Linked DNA regions of Homo sapiens: all the other regions are linked to region 2. The links are contacts of gene promoters, found by promoter capture Hi-C in human tissues and cell types (Jung and others, 2019). All regions are on one chromosome and are shown on one strand. Each heading gives the region's core, a stretch centred on a gene start or on the middle of the fragment in contact. The rest is flanking DNA. Distances are from core to core; before and after follow the strand shown. Region 1 overlaps ZNF888 (zinc finger protein 888). Region 2 holds the start of ZNF649 (zinc finger protein 649). Region 3 has its middle 19 kb from the start of ZNF845. Region 4 overlaps ZNF525 (zinc finger protein 525). Region 5 overlaps ZNF816-ZNF321P (ZNF816-ZNF321P readthrough).

Region 1 (2,749 bases), core at 104-2,603, 1.0 Mb after region 2:
AAAGAAGAAAATATATATTCTTCATATTTACAGCATATTTACTGTATAGAAATAAATGCTAAAGGACCGGACAATGTACTATATTGGTAAATAATCAACAACAAGCTCTTGTAAGGATAACCAAAATCAATGGAAATCCTGTACTGTCAAACCATCACAGCACAGAGAAGATAATAAAAGATTACAAAAATTAGCCAGGTGTTGTGGCCCGTGCCTGTAATCCCAGGTACTCGGGAGGCTGAGGCACAAGAATCACTTTAAGCCAAGAGGCAAAGGTTGCAGTGAGCCAACATCGCACCACTGCACCACAGCCTGGGTGACAAAGTGAGACTCGAGTCAAAAAAAAAAAAAAAAAAAAGGCAGGGCTTGGTGGCCCACACCAGTAATCCCACTACTTTGGGAGGCCGAGGCAGGTGGATCTCCTCAGATCAGGAGTATGACCAGCCTGGCCATCGTGGCAAAACCCCGTCTCTACTAAAAATACAAAAAGTAGCCGGGCGTGGTCGCGGGAGCCTGTAATCCCAGCTACTTGGGAGGCTGAGGCAGGAGAATTGCTTGAACCCGGGAGGCGAAGATAGTGGTAAACTGAGATCGCACCACTGCACTCCAGCCTGAGCAAAAAAGTGAGACTCCATCTCAAAAAAAAAAGAAAATGTTAATACCATATTTTTCTGAATAACTGTTACAAAATTACCTATATCCATGTGGAACAGGCGCTTTGTAACTTTTTAAAAAAAATTTTTGTATTTTTTTTTTTTTGAGATGGAGTCTCGCTCTGTCACCCAGGCTGGAGTGCAGTGGCACAATCTGGGCTCACTGTAACCTCAACCTCCTGGGTTCAAGCGAGTGTCTTGCCTCAGCCTCTTGAGTACCTGGGATTACAGGCACACACCACCATGCCCAGCTAATTTTTAAATTTTTAGTAGAGATGGGGTTTCACCACGTTGGCAAGGCTCGTCTCGAACTCCTGACCTCAGGTGACCCACATGTCTCAGCCTCCTAAATCCTGGGATTACAGGCATGAGCCACTGCGCCCGGGGGCACTTTTGACATTAATGAGTGGAATCTCTCAGTTATATTGCATACCACGTACCAAAAACTCACATGTAAAATCATAAAATCAATTAATAAAATATATTATTAATTCATTAATCAAATAATAAAATACTGTAACCCATGATAAAACAAGCAAGAAAATAAGTAGATTTATACTGCCTGCAGAATTCTAAACAATTCCCTCTTAAGAAAAAAACCACAACTTGTTCTTACCACCAGTACACAACATAAGAACAGAAATACATGTTAAGATCACTACCTTCTAATATATGAGGTCAAGAAAATACACAGCATTATAAGGAATAAGAATTGACTATGGCCAGGCATGGTGGCTCATGCCTGTAATCCCAGGACTTTGGGAGGCCAAGGCGGGTGGATCACCCAAGGTCAGGAGTTCTAGAACAGCCTGGCCAACATGGTGAAACCCCGTCTCAACTAAAAATACAAAAATTAGCCGGGCGTGTAATCCCCACTACTTGGGGGACCCGAGGCAGGAGAATCACTCGACCCTGGAAAGCGGAGGTTGCAGTGAGCATAGACTGCACCATCGCACTCCAACCTTGGGGACTAGAGCGAGACTTCGTCTCAAAAAAAAAAAAAAAAAAAAAAAAAAAAGAACTGAATAACACCAGGGCGCGGTGGTGCATGCCTGTAATCCCAGCACTTTTGGAGGCTGAGGCAGGTGGATCATGAGGTCATAAGTTCAAGACCAGCCTGGACAACATGGTGAAACCCCATCTCTACTAAAAATACAAAAAAAATTAGCTATGCATGGTGGCGGGTGCCTTTAATCCCAGCTACTTGGGAGGCTGAAGCAGGAATCATTTGAACCTGGGAGGCGGAGGATGCAGTGAGCCGAGACCATGCTACTGCACTCCAGCCTGGGTGAGAGAATGCGACTACATCTCAAAAAAATAAGATAAATAACTACTTCTCAAATAAGCTTTGGTAGATGTGGTATTCTCTAATAGGATGTTGCTGCAGATGCAGACTTGGAGAGAATTTAGCCATGGGTGTTGACTACCTGTGAATACTAAAAGTGCATTTATAAAGAGACATTAAAGAGCTCATTGCCTGTTCCTCTTTCCACCATGTTAGGACATGGCAGGAAGATGGCTGGGCTAAACCATGAAGAAGCCTCTCACCAGGAACTTATTTGGCTGGCACCTTGCTCTTGGATTTCTCCCTTCCCAAATTCATGAAAAATAAATTTCTGTCTCTTAAGCCTCCCAGTGTAAGCTATTTCCTCTTTTGTCTTTGAGATTGAGTCATGCTCTATCACCCAGGCTCAAGTGTAGTGGCATGATTCTCCTACCTCAAGTGATTCTCCCTCCTCAGCCCAGAGTCTCACTCTGTCACCCGGGCTGGAGTGCAGTGGGGTGATCTTAGCTCACTGCAACCTCCACCTCCTGGGTTCAAGTGATTCTCCTGCTTCAACCTCCCAAGTCTGGGATTACAGGTGCACAGCACCATGAACAGCTAATTTTTGTACTTTTAGTAGACACGGGATTTCACCATGTTGGCCAGGCTTGTCTCGAACTCCTGACCTCAAGTGATTGGCCCGTCTCAGCCTCCCAAAGTGCTGGAATTACAGGTGTGAGCAATTGCACCTGGCCCATTTTTGGCATTTAGTATATTTGAGGTTTCACCATGTTGTACAGACTGGTCTCAAACTCCTGACCTCAAGCAATCT
Region 2 (2,744 bases), core at 23-2,522:
GGAGGCGGAGGTTGCAGTGAGCTGAGATCGCACCACTGCACTCCAGACTGGACAACAGAGCTAGATTCCGTCTGGGGGATAGGAGGAAACTTTGATCCCCAAATGCTCAAGGAGACTGATGCTTAAGCAAACTAAATATTGCCTGAGAACGACTCCATACTTCTATATTTGAGTCCTTGTGGATAAACTGCAACCTAGCTTAACAGACAAAATTGAAAACCGAACTTAATCGTATGCACCTGTAACAATAGCTGAGTGGTGGCCAGTCCCAGCGGCCATACTCATAGACTGCTGAATGTTCCAACTGCGTTCAAATAAGGCAAACGCCGAATGGTAACCAATCTCACTGTTTCTGGACCTCGCTTCCGATTCCTGTATGTCACTTTACCTTTTTTGTCTATAAATTTGTTCTGACCACGAGGCACCCCTGGAGTCTCTGTTAATCTGCTGTGATTCTGGGGGCTGCCCAATTCGCGAATCGTTCATTGCTCAAGGAAACTCCTGTAAATTTAATTCGGCTTCAATTTTTCTTTTATCACTGATTTGAGTAATAATAAAACTCCGGTCTCCCCGCACAGCCGGCTCTGCATGAATTGCTCTTTCTCCATTGCAATTTCCCTGTCTTAACAAGTCGGCTCTGTCTAGGCAGCCGGCAAGGGTGGGCGGTTATAGTTTCACAACTCAACCCCAGCCAGGGGCCTGGGCTTGTAAAATACCAGATTTTACAAGCCTCTGAGCCCCACATGCCTGGGCCTCCCCGAAACACTTAACACACATCCCCGATTCACCCCAAAACCTACACCACACACCCTCGTACGCTGCCCAGCACCCCGGCTTCATCACCGACTTTAAACTGCAGCATTTGGAGTGATAATAATGGCGTCGGTGATAAAGCCGGCGTGCTGGGCAGCGTCCCCCTAGAGTTCTCCATCCAGTGATCCAGAGGCCTACTAACAGAGTGACCCTCAGAGACCCCAAACTCTGACGCCGAGTCTCAGTCGCTGAACTCGACAGACCTTTAACGCCCGACCACAAGAACTCTCCCACGCCGGACCGCAAAGGCACCCCAACCCAAAGGCTCCACCGCCCAGGCCGCCAGCTCTCCCCACAGGCTCCTCAGAAGCTCCCTACCCCTTTAACCTACTCCACGGAGAGACCCAAACACTCACCTGATTTTCTTCTGGCTACACCTAAATTCCCTGAATGCTTCCTTTCCTGGCCCTTAAACCCCGGCACTGGCCTATGGCGGCGGACGAGGGCGCGAGTCAATTCTGCCGCGCTAGGACGATGGGACATGGGCTTCTCTTCGAGGAGGTAACATGTCCGCGCCCTGAGCCACGGCTCTCTGGGCGCGGCCATCTTGGTAGATCTGCCGTACAGAAGGGAAACAGTTGTTCTTGTGTCATTAAACCGGGATGACTCTCCTGAAAGCAAAAATTTGAGGCGCAGGAGCATTTTCTAGAGTTTATCTGAACAAACAGCAATTCATGAATTAGGAAGCATCAAACCAAAAGAAGTCTCGCGCTTCTATGCTTAAAGCATTAGACACAAGTATTCACAGGGTGAGTGAAGGAGTAAAACAAAGAAATTATTTGATTAGTTACAATTATAAAAATGCATTTTTTTAAATTTGCCTTGGAAAGTCCCTAATGACATAATAGCATGTGAGTTGCCTACTTTTGATCGGTTGAGATTGAGTTTTGTCCTTCCCTAACACAAGCATTTACCAGAAATGACTCAAGTGAATTGTTGCTTATGTTTGCAGGTTAAGCAAGGTTAAGGCTGTTTTTAAGGCCTACTGGGTTTTGTTTGCTCAGGAGTTTTTGAATTCTGGTCTGCATTTTAATTTTGCTTTGACACAGGAGACAGTGAAATGGCACTGATGTGTTCCCTCTCCTGACACCTCAACCCCTGCACTGTGAGGTTGGAGCACTAACAACAGTGCACTGTGGGGAAAAGAAAGAGAGATCAGACTGTTACTGTGTCTATGTAGAAAGAAGTAGACATAAGAGACTCCATTTTGTTCCGTACTAAGAAAAATTCTTCTGCCTTGAGATGCTGTTAATCTGTAACCCTACCCCCAACCCTGTTCTCACAGAGACGTGTGCTGTGTTGACTCAAGGTTTAATGGATTTAGGGCTATGCAGGATGTGCTTTGTTAAACAAATGCTTGAAGGCAGTATGCTTGTTAAAAGTCATCACCACTCTCTAATCTCAAGTACCCAGGGACACAATACACTGCGGAAGGCCACAGGGACCTCTGCCCCAGAAAGCCAGGTATTATCCAAGGTTTCTCCCCATGTGATAGTCTGAAATATGGCCTCGTGGGAAGGGAAAGACCTGACCATCCCTCAGCCCGACACCCGTAAAGGGTCTGTGCTGAGGAGGATTAGTATAAGAGGAAGGAAGGCCTCTTGCAGTTGAGACAAGAGGAAGGCATCTGTCTCCTGCTCGTCCCTGGGCAATGGAATGTCTCGGTATAAAACCCGATTGTATGTTCCATCTACTGAGATAGGAGAAAATCGCCTTAGGGCTGGAGGTGAGACAAGCTGGCGGCAATACTGCTCTTTAATGCACCGAGACGTTTATGTATGTGCATATCAAAGCACAGCACCTTCTTCTTAAGCTTGTTTATGACACAGAGACATTTGTTCACATGTTTTCCTGCTGACACTCTCCCCACTATTATCCTATTGTCCTGCCACATCCCCCTCTCCGAGATGGTAGAGATAATGATCAATAAA
Region 3 (2,711 bases), core at 94-2,593, 1.4 Mb after region 2:
AATAATGAAAGCTGGTTGCATTCTTAAGGACTGTGGTACTAAAATCAATCTGCTGTTCCGCCTACCCAACAGGAATCATAGACTAAAATTTCAGGATTGCTGAGGACGTGACTATAATATCACCATGCTTGTAATGAGTAGACTGACTCTACAGGAGTCATGTAATTCCTTACACAAACAGTGTATCTAAATGGTAGTTGCTGGAACGAAAATGTTTTCTCTAATTCTGAGAGTGTGCAGGGCTTAATGGGAGCATTAATTGTGTCTCCACTGAAAACCACCATAGTCTGTTGATTATGGTGAGACTGTCTTTCCTCTTGATGTTAAGGAGGCAGAATTTAAGGAAAAGGTAACTTTATAATAACGAGCTAAAGAGAGCAGCTGTCAGACTCAAATGTGTCCTCTAATGTGTTCTCTGCTTCAAATAGATTCTAACATCACCCAAACTCTCTAATTTCTGTTTATCAACTATATAACACACATCCATTAGAGTTTCCAATTTTCATGTTTGTCACACTTTAATTTAATTATGCAAATATTGTCCTAAGGATAATAATTTCTTTAACTCAGTTACTAATGGCTCTAGATATGTCATCTAAGATTTGTAAGAATTTGGTTATTACCGTACACTATTTTATCCCATATTGGTGTTTCATGTCCTATTGTTTTGGGTAAGACATGATTGTGGTAGGTGCCTTTATGCCTTTGTCCTTGGCACAAAAGCAAATGCTCACAATGTTTTTTACTCTCTTTCCATTCTAATATTGATCCGTGCTTGCAGTCATTAAATCCAATTTGTTATGGCACAGGTTTCTATAGTGTTAAACTGTAATTCATTCATCTACATTTTTTAAGATCTCTAAACCTTTATTTATTCAGATATTGACAAATAGAATAAATTTTTGCACATGATATAAAATCATTACAATATACAGTAACCTACTACAAGACTAAAATATAATGACAAGGAATAAAAACAAAGGTCTCTGTATGTGTGTGTCTTATTCAAAGAACACAGCTATCTAGCTTTGTTAGTAAACTATAATGGCTAAATGCACTCTCTGTGCAAAAAAACAAGGCAGGTTCAAGTTCGTGCTTGCCTGTAAGTAGGGTGGAAATGTCACTAGCCACTTCACCTCTCTGTGTCTATGTCCTTCTCATATTTACAATGAAAGTAATAGTAATGCCTGCCTCATAGGTTTGTGAAAAAAGAAGTTGCCGCACGTATGATCTGCACAGCAGTGATTCCCACATGGGAAGTGCTCTTTAAAGGTTACGCATTCAACTCTCAAAAGCCTCTTAAGAGAAGAGTGACTTTAAGTATTTCTAAGGGCAGAGCAATGGGAGGTGGAGAATGCTGGGTTGCAGGTGACACTATAAACGTAGCTCATGCCTCCTATTTCCATGCAGGACCTCCCAGCCCTGAAGACAAACATCAGTGACAGACATCAGTGGCAGAATGGCCTCCCGGTATGTGGCAGTGGGAATGATCTTCTTATCACAGACCGTGGTGGGAGTCCTGGGGAGCTTCTCTCTTCTTCTCCATTATCTCTCCCTTTACTGCACTGGGTACAGGTTAAGGTCCACAGATTTGATTGTTAAGCACCTGATTGTAGCCAACTTCTTAGCTCTCCGCTGTAAAGGAGTCCCCCAGACAATGGCAGCTTTTGGGGTTAGATATTTTCTTAATGCTCTTGGGTGCAAACTTGTTTTCTATCTCCATAGAGTGGGCAGGGGAGTGTCCATTGGCACCACCTGCCTCTTGAGTGTCTTCCAGGTGATCACGGTCAGCTCCAGGAAATCCAGGTGGGAAAACTTAAAGAGAAAGCCCCCAAGCATGTTGGCTTTTCTGTTCTCCTGTGCTGGATCGTGTGCATGTTGGTAAACATCATCTTTCCCATGTATGTGACTGGCAAATGGAACTACACAAACATCACAGTGAACGAGGATTTGGGATACTGTTCTGGGGGAGGCAACAACAAAATCGCACAGACACTGCGTGCAATGTTGTTATCATTCCCTGATGTGTTGTGTCTGGGGCTCATGCTCTGGGTCAGCAGCTCCATGGTTTGCATCCTGCACAGGCACAAGCAGCGGGTCCAGCACATTGATAGGAGCGATCTCTCCCCCAGAGCCTCCCCAGAGAACAGAGCTACGCAGAGCATCCTCATCCTGGTGAGCACCTTTGTGTCTTCTTACACTCTCTCCTGCCTTTTCCAAGTTTGATGGCTCTTTTGGATAATCCCAATAGTTTACTGGTGAACACTTCAGCCTTAATGAGTGTATGTTTCCCAACTCTCAGTCCCTTTGTTCTCATGAGCTGTGACCCCAGTGTATACAGGCTTTGCTTTGCTTGGAAAAGATGACAAGATCCCCTAAACTGATCATAAACATGTGAAAACATGTAAGTTGTATATATTTGCTCATTGTTTAATTGATGATTCCCTCTTCCCTGCAGTAATGTACACATGATTATGAACCTGTCACAATCATGAGAAGGTGATGAACAAGACAGGGTGAACTTCCATCCCAATGGTAAACAATATCTAGTAAGAACAATTATAAATGAAACGATGAAATTATTATGTAAATACTCATATTATTAAAGCTTTATTAATACCTGCAGTAGAGTCATTAGAGGTCCATGCAATTTAAATTAGGTCATGAATCATGATGAAATTATTATGTAAATACTCATTATTACAGTTTTA
Region 4 (2,700 bases), core at 63-2,562, 1.5 Mb after region 2:
AGTTTGTATAAATGTACTTATGATTTGCTTGCTGGTTTTATGCGTTACAGTTATTTTACCAATTCATTTTTATGATTTTACATAAAGCTTTTCGGTATGTGGTATGCAATATAACTGACACAGTTTACTAGTTAATGTCACAAAGTGCCAGCGGGTGCTGTGGCTCACGCCTGCAATCCCAGGACTTTGGGAGGCTGAGGCGGGTGGATCACTTGAGGTCAAAAGTTCAAGGCCAGCCTGGCCAATATGATGTAACCCTATCTCTACTAAAAATACAAAAATTAGCCAAGCATGCTGGCATGTGCCTGTAATCCCATGTACTCAGGAGGCTGAGGCAGGAGAATGGCTTGAACCCAAAAGGTGGAGGTTGCAGTGAGCTGAGATCAGGCCATTGCCCTCCAGCCTGTTGTGACACAGTGAAACATTGTCTCAAAAATACAAAAATAAAAAAAAAATTTTAAATGTTACAATATGCCTTTTCTGCATGGATATAGGTAATTTTATGACAGTTATTCAGAAAAATATTTTTTTTTTTTTGAGATGGAGTCTCACTTTGTCATCCAGGCTGAAGTACAGTGGTGCGATCTCGGCTCACTGCAACCTCTGCCTCTTGGGTTCAAGCAATTCTTGTACCTCACCCTTGCGAGTAGCTGGGAGTACAGACGTGCACCACCATGCCTTGCTAAATTTTGTAAACTTTTCTTATCTTCTCAGTGCTATGATTATTTAACAATACAGAATTTCCATTGATTTTGGTTATCCTTACATGAGCTTGCTGTGGATTATTTACCAGTATATTATATTGTGTGGTCCTTTAGTATTTATTTGTATACAGTAAGTATGCTGTAAATATGAAGAATATATACTTTTCATTGATGTGACAGTGATATGTCTTTTGCAAACTGTTAGACACTTTAGGGTCACAGTGGAAAAATACTCCTTATTTTAGGCTTACACATGTTTGTGCCCTTCAGTGTTTTGTCATGATATTGGAAATAAGCTTTCATAATAATAATTTGAAGCACATGTAATCGCCCTTTATTTATTAAAGAATCTTACGATTTTGTGTTCCTAAACTTTGAAGATCATGTTTGGGAAGTTTAAAATCAGTATTGTCTTTTGTGTACCTATTAGTGTTTATATTTTGTAGGTATCTCTTCCAAATGCACAATGAAGGAGTTCTCATCAACAGCACAAGGCAATACAGAAGTGATCCACACAGGGACATTGCAAAGACATGAACGTCATCACATTGGAGATTTTTCCTTCCAGGAAATTGAGAAAGATATTCATAACTTTGAGTTTCAGTGGCAAGAAGATGAAAGAAATGGCCATGAAGCACCCATGACAAAAATCAAAAAATTGATGGGTAGTACAGAGCAATATGATCACAGGCATGCTGGAAACAAGCCTATTAAATATCAGCTTGGATCAAGCTTTCATTCACATCTGTCTGAACTCCACATATTTCAGCCCAAAGGGAAAATTAATAATCAAGTGGAGAAGTCTATCAACGATGCTTCCTCGGTTTCAACAGCCCAAAGAATTTCTTGTAGGCCCAAAACCCATATATCTAATAACTATGGGGATAATTTTCTGAATTATTCATTACTCACACAAAGACAGGAAGTACGCATGAGAGAAAAATCTTTCCAATGTATTGAGAGTGGCAAAGCCTTTAATTATAGCTCACTCTTAAGGAAACATCAGATTATTCATCTAGGAGAGAAACAATATAAATGTGATGTATGTGACAAGGTCTTTATTCGGAAGCGATACCTTGCACGCCATCGTAGATGTCACACTGGTGAGAAACCTTACAAGTGTAATGAGTGTGGCAAGTCCTTCAGTCAGATGTCATCCCTTACATATCATCATCGACTTCATACTGGAGAGAAACCTTACAAATGTGAAGAATGTGACAAAGCTTTCAGACACAATTCAGCCCTTCAAAGACATAGGAGAATTCATACTGGAGAGAAACCACATAAGTGTAATGAGTGTGGCAAGACCTTTAGTCAGAAGTCATACCTTGCATGCCATCGTAGCATTCATACTGGAAAGAAACCTTACGAATGTGAAGAATGTGACAAAGCTTTCAGTTTCAAATCAAACCTTGAAAGTCATAGGATAACTCATACTGGAGAGAAACCATACAAGTGTAATGATTGTGGCAAGACCTTCAGTCATATGTCAACCCTTACATGCCATCGTAGACTTCATACTGGAGAGAAACCTTACAAGTGTGAAGAATGTGATGAAGCTTTCCGTTTCAAATCAAGTCTTGAAAGACATAGGAGAATTCATAATGGAGAGAAACTGTACAAATGTAATGAGTGTGGCAAGACCTTCAGTCAGGAGTTATCCCTTACCTGCCATTGTAGACTTCATAGTGGAGAGAAACCTTGCAAGTGTGGAGAATGTGACAAGGCTTACAGTTTCAAATAAAATCTTGAAATACGTCAGAAAATTCATACTGGAGAGAAATGTTATAAGTGTAATGATTGTGGCAAGATCTTCAGTCATACGTCATCCATTGTATACCATCATAAATTTCATAGTGGAGAGAAACCTTACAAATGTGAAGAATGTGATGAAGCTTTCAGTTTCAAATCAAACCTTGAAAGACATAGGAGAATTCACACTGGTGAGAAACCTTACAGGTGTAATAGGTGTGGCAAGACCTTCAGTCATACATCA
Region 5 (2,700 bases), core at 96-2,595, 1.1 Mb after region 2:
CATCCATGTCTGGTGTGAGCCCTTCCCAGGACCATGCCCAGTGGAGCCTCTTCCCAAGCTCATGTCACTAGGTTATAGGAGATGGAATTTAAGTGAAGATGAGAGGGACTGAGAAAAGACACGGGTGAGTGCGAGCAAACGTGTGATGTAGAATGCTTCACACTCAGAGAAGATTGGCTACTACAATACCTGGCACTTCAGAAAGGAAAGAGACAGAAGAATCCACCAAGGAATATCACTTACCTGAGGAAGAGCCATCCCTGGCTCCTTTTCTTTGCTCTTCTTGGTGGCTTCCTCACGTAACATGAGTCTTTGGAAATCCTGTATGTTAAAAAAGCAAGAGATTTAATATTTAGAAACCATTGACTCCTTTCCTGTGACAAAACACACACACAGGGGAAACCTCACCCGAGAGAAAGATGGTCCTTTGCTACCCACTGCACCAGAGACCATGCAGAGATAAGAAAGTTCCACAGGAAGACCTACAAATGTAATTTTGACCCGTTTTCAGATCTTGCTCCCCTCCTGGAAAAGTCCACACACACGCTGCAGCAGGACACAGATCTTCAGGGCACAGATCTAGCCCTAACCAAACTCCATGCAGAGCACAGCCCCCTCACCTCCCTGTGGATCACAGACTGATCTCAGCTCTCAACATGGAGGAAACTTCCTTGATGTTTAATGCTGGACACAGATAAGAATCACCAGTGCCATTGTAAGTATTATTGAGTGTGGGTCCCATCCTATTATAATAGCAATCTGATAAAACAGCATGCCTGTAATCCCAGCATTTTGGGAGGCCGATGCAGCTGGATCCCTTCAGCTCTGGGGTTGGACACCAGCCTGAGCAACATGGCGAAAGCCCATCTCTACGAAGAACACAAAAATTAGTGTGGTGTGGTGGCACGCAGCTGTGGTCCCAGCTACTCTGGAGGCTGAGGTAGGAAGCAGACCACCACTTCTCCTGCTGCCTTCCTCCCTCCCCCTTGCCTAGTTTATAAGACAGGAGGAAAGGAAGAAAGCAAAAAGTTAGAAAGAAACAGAAGTAAGATAAATAGCCAGACGACCTTGGTGCTACCACCTGGCCCCGGTGGTTAAAAATAATAATAATACCAACCCCTGACCTAAACTACTTATGTTATCTGTAAATTCTAGACATTGTATGAAGAAGCATTGCAAAAGTTTCTGTTCTGTTAGCTGATGCACGTAGTGTCAAGTCACATTCCCCACACTTGCTTGATCTATCATGACCCTTTCACGTGGATGCCTTAGAGCTGTAAGCCCTTAAAAGGGCCAGGAATTTCTTTTTCAGGGAGCTCAGTTCTTGAGACACGAGTCCTCTGATGCGCTGGGCCGAATAAAGCCACTTCCTTCTTTAATCCGTTGTCTGAGAGGTACTGTCTGCGGCTCGTCATGCTACATTTCTTGGTTCCCTGACTTGGAAGCGAGGTAATTAACAGAAGGTCGAGGCAACCCCTTAGGTGACTTAGGCCTGCCCTTTGGAGCATCCCTGCTGGGTACTCCAGCCAGCTTGGGCGACATGGATTCTGAGAGTGCTACCAGGTAGGCATGTGCCCCAGAAAGATACTTAGCCTGGCCATCCGAACTTGCAGTGTAACCAGTGTGCTTACTGTAAAGAAATAGGATATTAGAAGGACAAGTGCCCTCAGCTAAAAGGAAAACAAGGTGGCTCAGAGCAGGAGGCCCCAGAAGGAGCCCTGTTCAATATAGCAGAAGAGTTACTGAACTGAGGAGGACCAGGCTCAACTGCCCCCAAGGAGCCCATGGTCAAGATGACAGTTAGGGGCAAAGACATTGATTTTCGTATTGATACCAGTGCTGAACATTCAGTAGTAACCGCCCCGGTTGCCCCCCTTTCCAAAAAGACTATTGTTATAATCGGAGCCATGGGAGTTTTATCAAAGCAAGCTTTCTGTTGCCCCAGACTTGTACTGTAGGAAGACATAAAGTGATTCACCAGTTCTTGTACATGCCTGACTTGAAAGGACTTGAAAGGACTTGCTTAGCGAGCTGAGAGCCACCGTCTCTTCTACAGAGCACAGCTCTTTACAGCTAAGGTTACCCAGAACGGGAGTCATTATGGCCCTTACAGTCCCCCAGGAAGAGGAATGGAGACTTCTTTTAACTGAGCCAGGCCAAGAGATAAGACCAACTCTGGCTAAGCGGTGGCCAAGGGTGTAGACAGAAGACAACCCTCCAGGGATGGCAGTTAACCAAGCCCTGGTACTTATAGAAGTTAAGCGTAGGGCCCAGCCAGTCAGGCAAAAACAGTACCTGGTCCCCAGAGAAGATCTTGAAAGTATCCAGGTCCATCTCAAGAGCCTGAGAGCCTTTAGAATTACAGTCCCTTGTCAGTCTCCCTGGAACACTCCCCTCCTGCCTGTTCCCACGCCAGGGACCAATGACTACAGGCCGGTACAGGACTTGCACTTAGTCAATCAAGCTACAGTGACTTTACATCCAACAGTACCTAACCCGTACACGTTAAGGTTGCTGCCAGCTGAGGACAGCTGGTTCTCTGGCTTAGACCTGAAAGACACTTTCTTTAGCATTAGACTAGCCCCTCAGAGCCAGAAGCTGTTTGCCTTTCAGTAGGAAGATCTGGGATCAGGTGTCACTGCTCAGTACTCTTGGACCCGGCTTCTGCAAGGGTTCAAGAACTCCCCCACCATCTTCAGG

What was found. Contacts are between HindIII fragments. The study calls those that stand out against the background at their distance.
Region 1: a contact is called between a fragment that was not itself captured here and the fragment with the promoter of ZNF649 in region 2, in 1 of the 25 tissues and cell types used here (aorta).
Region 3: a fragment that was not itself captured here is called in contact with the fragment with the promoter of ZNF649 in region 2 in 1 of the 25 tissues and cell types used here (stomach).
Region 4: a fragment that was not itself captured here is called in contact with the fragment with the promoter of ZNF649 in region 2 in 1 of the 25 tissues and cell types used here (dorsolateral prefrontal cortex).
Region 5: a fragment that was not itself captured here is called in contact with the fragment with the promoter of ZNF649 in region 2 in 1 of the 25 tissues and cell types used here (adrenal gland).

The regions. Positions count from the first base shown.
Region 1 is chr19:52,908,507-52,911,255 of GRCh38, forward strand. The region is part of intron 4 of ZNF888 (zinc finger protein 888); the gene reads right to left. Among named protein-coding and RNA genes, the nearest start is that of ZNF320, 12 kb to the left of the region's middle. The HindIII fragment of the contact is 5,859 bases long and covers 1-2,749 here.
Region 2 is chr19:51,903,745-51,906,488 of GRCh38, forward strand. It overlaps ZNF649 (zinc finger protein 649), which reads right to left and starts at 1,273. Exons shown (of 5, transcript NM_023074.4): 1 at 1,170-1,273. RefSeq lists enhancers at 1,042-1,586, 1,305-1,424, 1,915-2,539. The HindIII fragment of the contact is 10,496 bases long and covers 1-2,744 here.
Region 3 is chr19:53,313,678-53,316,388 of GRCh38, forward strand. It overlaps the pseudogene VN1R6P. Among named protein-coding and RNA genes, the nearest start is that of ZNF845, 19 kb to the right of the region's middle. The HindIII fragment of the contact is 6,434 bases long and covers 1-2,711 here.
Region 4 is chr19:53,379,572-53,382,271 of GRCh38, forward strand. ZNF525 (zinc finger protein 525) reads left to right here. Exons shown (of 4, transcript NM_001348156.2): 4 at 1,151-2,700. The coding sequence ends at 2,448. Among named protein-coding and RNA genes, the nearest start is that of ZNF765, 14 kb to the right of the region's middle. The HindIII fragment of the contact is 5,110 bases long and covers 1-2,700 here.
Region 5 is chr19:52,955,784-52,958,483 of GRCh38, forward strand. It overlaps ZNF816-ZNF321P (ZNF816-ZNF321P readthrough), which reads right to left. Exons shown (of 4, transcript NM_001202473.2): 2 at 244-321. The coding sequence starts at 306. It overlaps ZNF816 (zinc finger protein 816), which reads right to left. Exons shown (of 4, transcript NM_001202457.3): 2 at 244-321. The coding sequence starts at 306. Among named protein-coding and RNA genes, the nearest start is that of ZNF816, 5.7 kb to the right of the region's middle. The HindIII fragment of the contact is 5,247 bases long and covers 1-2,700 here.